2 separate regions of the Homo sapiens genome follow, and region 2 is linked to region 1. The links are contacts of gene promoters, found by promoter capture Hi-C in human tissues and cell types (Jung and others, 2019). All regions are on one chromosome and are shown on one strand. The core of a region is centred on a gene start or on the middle of the fragment in contact, and the rest is flanking DNA. Distances in the headings are between cores, read along the strand shown. Region 1 holds the start of UTP20 (UTP20 small subunit processome component). Region 2 has its middle 17 kb from the start of SLC5A8.

What was found. The method cuts DNA at HindIII sites, captures the fragments that hold promoters and counts their contacts. A contact is called where the count stands out against the background at its distance.
Region 2: a contact is called between a fragment that was not itself captured here and the fragment with the promoter of UTP20 in region 1, in 2 of the 25 tissues and cell types used here (mesendoderm cells and thymus).

What each region holds. Positions count from the first base shown.
Region 1 is chr12:101,278,152-101,283,236 of GRCh38, forward strand. It overlaps UTP20 (UTP20 small subunit processome component), which reads left to right and starts at 1,954. Exons shown (of 62, transcript NM_014503.3): 1 at 1,954-2,176; 2 at 2,965-3,045. The coding sequence starts at 2,132. RefSeq lists enhancers at 1,653-2,244, 1,978-2,027. The HindIII fragment of the contact is 9,089 bases long and covers 468-5,085 here.
Region 2 is chr12:101,224,579-101,229,902 of GRCh38, forward strand. It overlaps the pseudogene RPS6P19. Among named protein-coding and RNA genes, the nearest start is that of SLC5A8, 17 kb to the left of the region's middle. The HindIII fragment of the contact is 6,482 bases long and covers 1-5,324 here.

The DNA of each region.
Region 1 (5,085 bases), core at 704-3,203:
TTCTAACTCTCTGAAACGTGCACATTTTAGTGTGGATGAGCTTCTTTGCATCTTTCTGGGAGAAGTTCTACAGCTTTCTTAGATTTCCCTGTGACCCATAAAAGGCTTTTAAAAAAAAAAGACCAATTATTAGCCTACTGAAAGCCAATGGAACATTAGGCACGTCAATATTTTATTATAAAAAAATCTATAAATGCTATGGAGGCATTAAAATATTTAGAACAACCCTGTGGTGACACAGAAAATGTTGATGTGATAATGCCAATAACAATTTGAAAGTGTTATGTTCACTTTCTCAACTCTGATTACCTCCTCAATCCATGCATATTTCACTTCCTTTCTTCCAACTAGACTGTACTTAGCAAGGTCACCAGTGACCTTCACCTTGTCAGATCCAGCAACCACTTCTCTATCCTCGAATTTGCAGTATAGTTGGCCACCAGCTCTGCTTCCATGCCATAACTAGTCTGTTTCTACCTTACTGGCTCTCTTTCCCAGTCGCAAATGCCTCACACTTGAGGTATTTAGGTGTATTTAAGTCACGTCTGCAGCCCAGACTGCTACAGTGAGCTCTGTACAACAATATATCCAATTGTCTACTTAACATCACTCCTTGACTAAAATGTAAGCATCTCAGACCAAGTATTTCCAGTCTGGGCATGGTGGCTCACCCCTGTAATCCCAGCACTTTGGGAGGCCAAGCCAAGAGGACTGCTTGAGTCCAGAAGTTTGATACCAGCCTGGGCAATATAGCAAGATCCCATCTCTACAAATAATAATAATAATAATAATAATAATAATAATAATAATAAAAGAGCTGGGTGTGGTGGTGCATGCCTGTAGCCCTAGCTACTTGGGAGGCTGAGGTGGGAGGCTCACTTTAGCCCAGGAATTGAAGGCTGTGAATATTTTCAAATAATTAATTAATACTATTATTGCCTTTCTCGTTTGGCTCCCAGAACAGTACCTGGTCCACAGAGGACTCTCAAGAAATAGTTGCTGAATGAATGAATGAATGTAAAATGGGGTAAATAATTATATTTTTAAATTATTTTTTAAAATTGTACATATATGTATATATAACTGTACAATTTAACAACATGCTATGTGTAGACATTAAAGTGATGGGAAAAACACCAAACATTAACAGCGGTTGTGCATGAAATTAAAAGATTTTTCTTAAAACTCCTTCTCTATTTTTCAATTTTATTTACAGCGTAGTGGTTAAGAATACCAAAATTTAGAGTCTGAGTGAAGACTGCCAGTTACCAGCTGCACAACCTTGGTTTCCTCTTGTGTCAAATTGGCTTAAAAATATACACAGTACCGGCCAGGCGCGGTGGCTCACACCTGTAATCCCAGCACTTTGGAAAACCGAGGCGGGCGGATTGCCTGAGCTCAGGAGTTCGCGACCAGCCTGGGCAACAAGGTGAAACCCCGTCTCTACTAAAATACAAAAGAATTAGCCGGGCGTGGCGGCGGGTGCCTGTAGTCCCAGCTACTTTGGACGCTGAGGCAGGAGAACTGCTTGAACCCGGGAGGCGGAGATTGTAGTGAGCCGAGATCGCGCCACTGCCCTCCAGCCTGGGAGACAGAGTGAGACTCCGTCTCAAAAAAAAAAAAAAAAAAGTATATATCTATATATAGATATATAGATAGACGCAGTACCTCCTTTGTATTAACATCCCTAATAAGCTTTACTGTGAAATTATGGATGAAAGGATCTTTGCACGATGCAGGTACGTAGTGAGGGACAGTAATGTTAGTTGATAACGATTACAGGTATGTTTTATTTTATAATGAAAATACATTTGTCTTCTAAACCTTTACCGAAGGGAGTGAAAAGAACACCTCACCCAAACGCCCGCCCTTATGTGCGCAGCCCCGCCTCCTGTAGGCCCCACCCCACCAAAGGGTGCGCCTGCGCCGTTCTTTTTTCCGTCCACGTGACCCACTCAGGCTCCTCCTTGTCTCCAACATGGCGGCGCCCAGGGGCTCAAGCCGCACGTGAGAAAGTCTGGGCATCTGGGAATCGGAGAGTATAGCCTGTGAGCCGCTTTCCCCTCCTTACTGTCGGTTGCATCCCTTCGACACTCCCGAGGCCGTCGCGGGCCACTGGCCCTCTGCAGCCATGAAGACAAAGCCCGTTTCCCACAAGACCGAGAACACCTACCGGGTGAGCGCGGGAGCTTAGGCAGGGAGCCGCGGGTCTCCGCTGCCTCAGTCGTGAGACAGGCTCTGAGCGAGACTCCAGGGGCCTCAGACTTCTGGGCCGAGTGTGTCACTTTCCTGGAGGCTCCGGCGAAAGAGGGAGACACTGGATGTAGTAAACATGGGTTGGAGGAGGAAAGAAGTGTGGACAGCAAGTTTCACCCATGTTTTATGGGGTCTGGCCAGTCCTGGGAATTTCCTGTAGTCCAGAATTAAATTCACTATTCCAGGAGATTGCTTAGGACCAATTCTCCCCTGCTCTTTTATCTTTAAAGACCGAATTGGGCGAGTCGGCTGGCGGTGAGTGATTCCCAGCTAAGGGCAAATATACAGCGCTTTCTCTGTTTGCCCCTTGATAGATTGTTTCCAGGTCTTCCTTAGGATACAATCATAGGTCTGTATATGTTTAAAAACACTTTTATTGCAGCGACTTTGCTAGGTCCCCATGCTTATGGGAGGGTATGAAACCTAATAGATCTAGCGAGACTAATTGCCAGCATCCACCTAGGCTCACCAGTCTGGCAATGGAAATTTTATTTGAAATGACATAGCTGAGAGAAATTATGCAAACATAGAAGTATTCATTATCTTTGAACAGTGATGCAGTAAATTTGTTTACGGCCGTATGTTTTTCAGTTTATTTTTCCACTTATCCTTTGTGATTAGAGATGCCTACATGCAGCATTCAAATAGATATTAAAGATCTGATAAATTTTAATTAATTATGTATCTTAAATATACTTTCCCTTCCAGTTTCTTACATTTGCTGAACGACTGGGGAATGTTAATATTGATATTATTCACCGGATTGATAGAACTGCAAGCTATGAGGAGGTAAGAGAATGTGATACTAGTCAATCTTCAAGTGTTCATGGTGTTTTAGTTTCTTCTGTTAGTAGAAGTGAATTGTTTTTCAAGGTATTCCTTTTTGGACATGAAATGCTTTAGACCTGTGCTGTTTCATACAGTAGCCACATATGACAAATTGGATTTAAAGTAAATTAAAAATTTGGGTGCCCAAATGTGGCTAGTTGCTAACATATTGAATAAATATAGAATTGGAACATTTTCATCTTTGCAGAAAGTTCTGTTGGGTGAAGCTCTATTAGACAATTGACTTGACTTTCAGCTGTCTTTGTGATTCTAGCCTCTCCCTTTCCCTTATGCATTCCAAGCACTGCTGCAGATCCATATTCCTGAAGCTATAACTTTAAAGTGATTTTGAGGAAGCCCTTTTCCCGGGGCTTAATTTTCTCCTTTATAAAAATAAAGGGGCTAGACTACATAATATTTTCCAGTTTTAACCATACTCTGACTCTGTCATCCCTTTATTTTACTTTTATTTATTTATTCATTTTTTTGAGATGGAGTCTCGCTCCGTCTCCAGGTTGGAGTGCAGTGGCGTGATCTTGGCTCACTGCAATCTCCACCTCCCAGGTTTAAGCGATTCTCCTGCCTCAGCCTCCCGAGTAGCTGGGATTACAGGTACGTGCCACCACACCCAGCTAATTTTTGCATTTTTAGTAGAGACGGGGTTTTGACATGTTGGCCAGGATGGTCTCAATCTCCTGACCTCGTGATCTGCTCGCCTTGGCCTCCGAAAGTGCTGGGATTACAGGTGTGAGCCACCACGCCCGGCCTTGTCATCCTTTTATGCAGAAGTCTTTTTCTGCATCATGTCGTTATTCCTCCTAGCATTTTAAGGTCGTACGTAACATGCCTATACCTTGGCGATCCAATCTCAGTTCGTAATATTCTTCTTTACTATAATCAGACTCCACTCGCTGGGTCTTTGAATGCATTATCTCCACTGTGTAAATTCAATGTGTTAAATGATGTCGTCTAGGTGAGCACATTGTGCTTTGAGAACTCATAGTAAAGGGAACCTAACCTACATTCTTTAGGGGTGTCAAAAAAACGGTGATCTAGACGAGGTGACACCTGAATTTTGTTTATATAGGTTTTAGCATGGTAAAGAGGACAGGAAAGCCTGTTCCAGGCTGAGGGAGAAGCCTATATAAAGGAACAGAAGCTAGAGAATGCATGTCACATTCAAGAAACTGCAAAGCAGTCCAGTGTGGTTATAGGTGTGTATAGGGTGTTTTTTTTTTGTATTCATGGTGACTGGGATGGGGCAAGGGGGCAACTGGTGAGATAAAGCTGGAGAAATAGGCAAGGATCATAAAGGACTTCATATGTGAAGCTAAGTTGGGGTTTTATCCTGAAGCTGTAGGGACTTAGAGTTCTAGGACTGTAAGCAGGGGAATGAATGACATGATCAGGTTTAAATTTTCAATCTCTCTGGCTTTAGTGTGGAGAAAAGAGCAGGACTGCAGTTCTTCATCATGTCATGATTCCTCTGCTAGCCTTTTAAGGTCCTGTGTAACATGCCTTTAACTTGGAGATCCAATCTCAGTTGTCCAGTTGTGAGGATTTGACTGTTATCTAAGTAAGAAATGATTATGGTAGCAGCAATCAAGATAGAGAGAAGAGAAAGATTCCAGAGATGTTGAGGAAGTAGAATGAATGGATAGGACTTGTGACCTACTGGGTTTGCAGCAAGGAAGATAATGAGGTTAAGGCTGAATGGTTGAGGATGTTACTCATCAAGATATATTTATAGGTAAAGGAGCACAAGGTTGTAAAGATAAGATAATTAGTTCCATTTGGGGCTTGAATTTGAAATACCTTTGGCCATCCAAATGATAGTGTCCAAAAGATGTTTGTATATATGGATCTGGAGTATAGGTGACTTCAGAGGTGAAATTACAGATTTGGCATTTAGAATATGATTAATAATTTAAGCCACAGGAGAGGTTGAAGGTATCAAGAGGCAGTGTTAAGAAGGCAGAGAAGACAGCCTGAAATTAGAAT
Region 2 (5,324 bases), core at 895-3,394, 53 kb before region 1:
AAGCTAAACTCAGTTGTTTCACAATGGATACATAGGTGGTAAAACTGTAAAGGAAAAGAAGGAAGCAGTAATCATAAAAGGTAGGATGGTGTCACATCTAAAGGGAGAGAACTAGTTGTAATCAGGTGGGGACATATGGGGGGCTTTAGGGAAGCTAGCAATGTTTATTTCTTGATTTGAGTGTTGGTTAATGATCATTCACTTTATAATATATATTAAACTGTATGCATATATTTGGTAATTTAAAAAGAAAACCACTTTTTAAACAGTGTGGCAGATTGAGCACATATTTTACCTTTTGTTCCCTTCCAAACTTCACAAAAATGACTCTAGTCATAAGGATAAAGAGAGTAAGAGACAAAAAACAAAACACTCATATAATTCTGGGATCCAAAAAGCAGGTGAATAAGAAGAGACTCACTTAGAAAAGCAGAGAAAGCTGAAATTCAAGACAGCAGCATGAGAAGGTCTTAGAAGCAGGCTTATTTGTATCTCAGAAGCCCCAAAAGGAGCAGGAATTGGATGTTGTGATAGCTCTTGAAGCAGGGCCTATGTTGGGATAGAGACTTAAAAAACAGAGTTGGTTGCAAATCTGTATGAAGGGACATTTCACCTATCCCCTTGCCTACCCTGTGCAGCTGGGCAACTGTCCCTCCCCTAGCCTAGCAGAAGACTGAAGTCTTACTCACAGAACTTAACAGGAGACTCCGGACAGGGAACACTGATGTAACTGTGAGGCGGCCTCTGTATTGAACACTGGGGAACTAAGGGAATGTCTACATACTCAGAAACAAAATCAAAAATGAAACACCCCCTGCAACCTTCCCCCATAATCTCCTTCCCAAACTCTTCCCCAAGAGCGTAAACCTCCACTTAATATGTTTTGAAAATCAGGCAATCAATGTGGACTGATTGTTATCTAGACCTGGTGCACAGTGGTTGTCTTGGGATCTCAGTTTAAAATATGGTGGGAATTATTCTGGCCTGTATCCTACTGATTCTTTATTGCCTGAATCTCATGTTTCTTCTTTGGATACTCCCTTGTCTTGGCCGTGCATATCATCCAGTAGCGTCCTGAGAAAGCATGCACAGGAGATCATTATTTTGAGAATGAGCATATGTGAAAAAACCTTTATTCTCCCCCTAGTACTTTATGGCCTGTTAAGCGGAGGTGTGTCAACCATTGGGCTTTTCTATGGGGTGTTCTGGCTGAGTTCATTAGGCAACCTCCAAATGTTAATATTAATATTATCATGGTATTCTTCTTTCTCCACTTCTTCCTCCTCCCTTCTCCCTTTCCTTTCCTTCTCCCTCTCCTCTCCTTTCCCCTCCTCCCCAGCACCCCTCCTCATCATTCTCCTCCTCCTATTTTCCCTCCCCTCCTCCTTCTCATTGCTTAGTCCATTGTCTAGAGCAAGAACCCTCCCAGCATAGTGACTCATGCCTATAATCCCAGCACATTGGGAGGCCAAGGTGGGAAAATCACTTGAGGCCAGGAGTTAGAGACCAGCCTGGGCCACATGGCAAGACCCCATCTCTACAAAAAATAAAATAAATACCCATGTGGTGGCATGTACCTATAATCCCAGCTACTTGGGAGGCTTAGGTGGGAAGATTGCTTGAGCCCCAGGAGATAGAAGTTGCCGTGAACCGTGATTGCCACTGTATTCCAGCCTGGGTGACAGAGCGAGACCTTGTCTAAAAAAAAAAAAAAAAAAAAAAGCAAGAACTCTGTGATTCACTTACCCCTGAATCTCTGTGGCCTAGTACCATACCTGACACCCAATAAATATTTAAACTGAATTCAAATTAACAACTTCACGTTGAAGTTAGATGAGCTCTCTTCCTCTACTTTGTGAGCTATATGTGAAGGGGTTGAAAATGCAAGAGTAGATAAAAAGAGAAATCTTCCACTTGAAGAAGTTGTATGCAACAATTAAACTGAGCATCATGACATCTGGCAGCATCCTCCCTTTGCTGGACTTCTCAGCAGCATTTCACAGAGTGGATCATTCCCTCCTAGAAATTTTTTACCTTCCAGCACACTCTCCTGGTTTCCTCCAGCCTTACAGGTCACTCCTTCCCAATCTCTTTTGCTGGAGCTCCTCCTATTTCTGGACTGTGAATGCTGGAGTGACCAGGACTTAGTCTTCCTCAGTACTTTCATCCTGTCCCGCAGCTTTAACTTCTGTTTATGAGCTGAACATTCCATATAGCTCAGCTATCTCCAGTTCTGGCTCCTTTCCTAAACTCCAGATTCTTCACACCCTATGGCCACACAACATTTCCACTTAGAGGTCTAACAGGCATCCCAAACTTAGCATGGCCAAAAACCCAGGCCTTCGCTATCCACTCCCCCAAACCTGCTCTGCCTCAGGTATTCCTGTCTTGGTCGATAGCAACATCACCCACTCAACTGCTCGGACCAAAACCTTGTGACCATGGAATGCAGTGTTTGCAGTGATTGTGAATCTCAACTCTGCAGCCAGAACGTCTGGGGTCTAAAATCAGCTCCAGCATTTCCCGTGTGCATTGCCCTTCCTGTCTGTGCCTCAGTTTCTCATCAGAAAATGGAAATGATAATAGTGCCTACCCTATGGGATTGCTGTAAGGGTGATGTGGGTGAAAGTAGATTAAAGCATATAGAATCTGGCATAGGGAAGGTATTAGAAAGGCATTTGATATTATTTTTATTGTTATGAATATATGTAAAACATAGGAACAAGGCCTGACATAGAGTATGCACTAAGATTGATTCCTCTTTTTCCCTGATGTATCATATTCAATTCAAAGGGAATCCGGTTGGTTTTATATTCAAACTACAGATAAACTATAACTATTTCTCTCTGTCTGCACCATTGTAACCCTGACCCATGCTTTTACCTCCTCTTTCAGTTGAACCCCACAATAGTCACCTAACTTATCTCCCTCACCCACAGTCTCCTTCTCACATGTGAGTCTGATTGTGTCACTCCTTGCTCAGAAGTTTCCACTGGCTTCCAAAGTACTCAGGTCTTCAGTGTGGCTAGCAAGGTGCTCTCTAATCTAGCACCTAGCTACCTGGCCAGCATTAGCTTCTACCACCTAGCCCTCCCTCAGTGGGCTCCCTCACACCAGACTCCTTGTCATTCCCCCATCTCCACCTAACATCATTCCCTGTCCTCCCCATCCTATCTGTCCTACCACATATCACACCCTGCTATTACGCTAGTCAATGCTGCCCTGGATAGAACTGTGATAGGGGGTGGGAGGTGTCATAAGACAGAGACTTAATCAGTTTATTTAGTTCCTCAACTTTAGCTTATGAGGCATTCTTCACATTGAAGGAATGTGATTCAGATTTGGGGGCTGTGGGAAGCTACTGAGCAGATTCAGCATAAGTTACCACATGTCAGCTCTGCAGTCTTAAAAATTATACAAGTTGCTTTAAGTTTCTCCTTTAAAGTACTCATGGAAGTCATCATCTTCTCCATCATTTTCATCAATGTCCTTAGTCTTTATTGATTATTTTGCTGGGGGTGGTATGATCTTACTCATTTGTTAAGTAAGTCAAAAAATCTTATTTTTGACTAGACTCAGAAGTAGAAGCTTACAGAGGGGACAACCTGTGTCTCTGGTAATCTGCTCCTGGAGTTTTTCTTTAGTCTCCTTCATTCTCTTGGCCAAAAGTTTAACATATTTTGTGGCTCTTTCTTATTTTTCTTAGTATGCTGTTTCTTCTGAGCAATACCAGTGTTTGTATTGCAGGACATGTAGAGTAACAAGATGCTGAATCTTGGGTGCTTTGGTCCTCAGTATCTTACTCTCTTTGTTTAAGGGCTTTCTGGCAACATATGGGTGGGGGGCATTGTCTTCTTTAGAGAGACTGAAAAGTTTGCATTTCTGTTAGCTCTTTTGGGCCCCCAGCAACATGACACCATAGTATCAGTCAGTCCAGGAGTATCCTTCCCTCCTTTTTTTTTTTTTTTTTAAGATAACCAACTGGAGAATGCTCAGATTGGCATGCACAATGAAACCCCAAACAGATTCGCACTTTCTTTCTCCAGTTCTCCTTGGTCTATAACAGGAATGCCCCTACTCAGTAGCAGTAGGCAGACCCAGCCATGGGTCAGGACACACTGCTTCATGAGGAAACCTTGTTCGTTGGTCCCACCACTGACTCGGACCACATAACTCTTCCAGAGCGTCGGCAGCAACCTCTGTGCCATATGCTTCTCATAAGTACAAAATTGCCATTCGTTGTCCAATCCAATGAGTGTCTGTCAGCCAGTGGCTGGGGAGGAGATATTTAGCTTCATCCTGAAGCAGCTAATTGCCTCCAAGGTGCCACAAAAAAGAGCTCATGTTTTTGTTTTTGTTTTTTCATTAAACATTTAATTACATAAACGCAGAGAATCATATGGTTGCTTTGATGCTTTATGAGCACAGACATCAGTCCTATGATAACCATTTACCTTTGAGATAATTGTACCTGTTTTAATGGGATTGATGTTATTTTAACATAAATAGGTGTTAATTTGGGGGCTTAAGAGAAAAGAGTGTCTTTTCTGTCAAAATGAATGTTAGGTACATTTTCAGCCTATGAGAATTCACCCACGAGGACCTTTATTTAGGAACAAATTATCTTCATCATGGTGGAATGTTGTACATTACTTGGTTATGTACGTATTCTATGTTGACCCCTCCAGAATCTTCATTATGTGAGGACAGCAACATTGTTTTATTTAGAATAGTGCCTGGTGAATGTAAACATTTAATAAATAAATTATAAATAAACATTAAACATTTACTTAAATTGTAGGTTAAAAAAACACTTCGTTTTGGTCAGGAGTTTGAGACCGGTCTGAGCAATATGGTGAAATCTCGTCTCTGCTAAAAATACAAAAATTAGCCAGGCATGGTGGTAGGCACCTGTAGTCCCGACTACTCGGGAGGCTGAGACAGGAGAATTGCTTGAACCCGTTGAACCTGAGAGTCCGAGGTTGCAGTAAGCCAAAATCACGCCACCGCACTCCAGCCTGGGCAACAGAGCGAGACTCTGTCTCAAAAACAAACAAACAAACAAACAAAAAAAACAGAAACACATATGGTTAATGGCTATGATTATGTTAAATGTATGAAAATAATGTTGGAAGGAAACATACAAGAATGATAATAGTTATCAGAAGGTTATGATTATAGGTGATTTTTAACCAAAATTTTAAATTTTATTGAAACATTACATTGTTCTTTTTTTTTAAAAAAAAAAAAAGTAATGTCACAAATGAAAGCACATGGAATTGGCAGTCCAAGTCCCGGATTCCAGTACTTACTGTGTGGAGTGG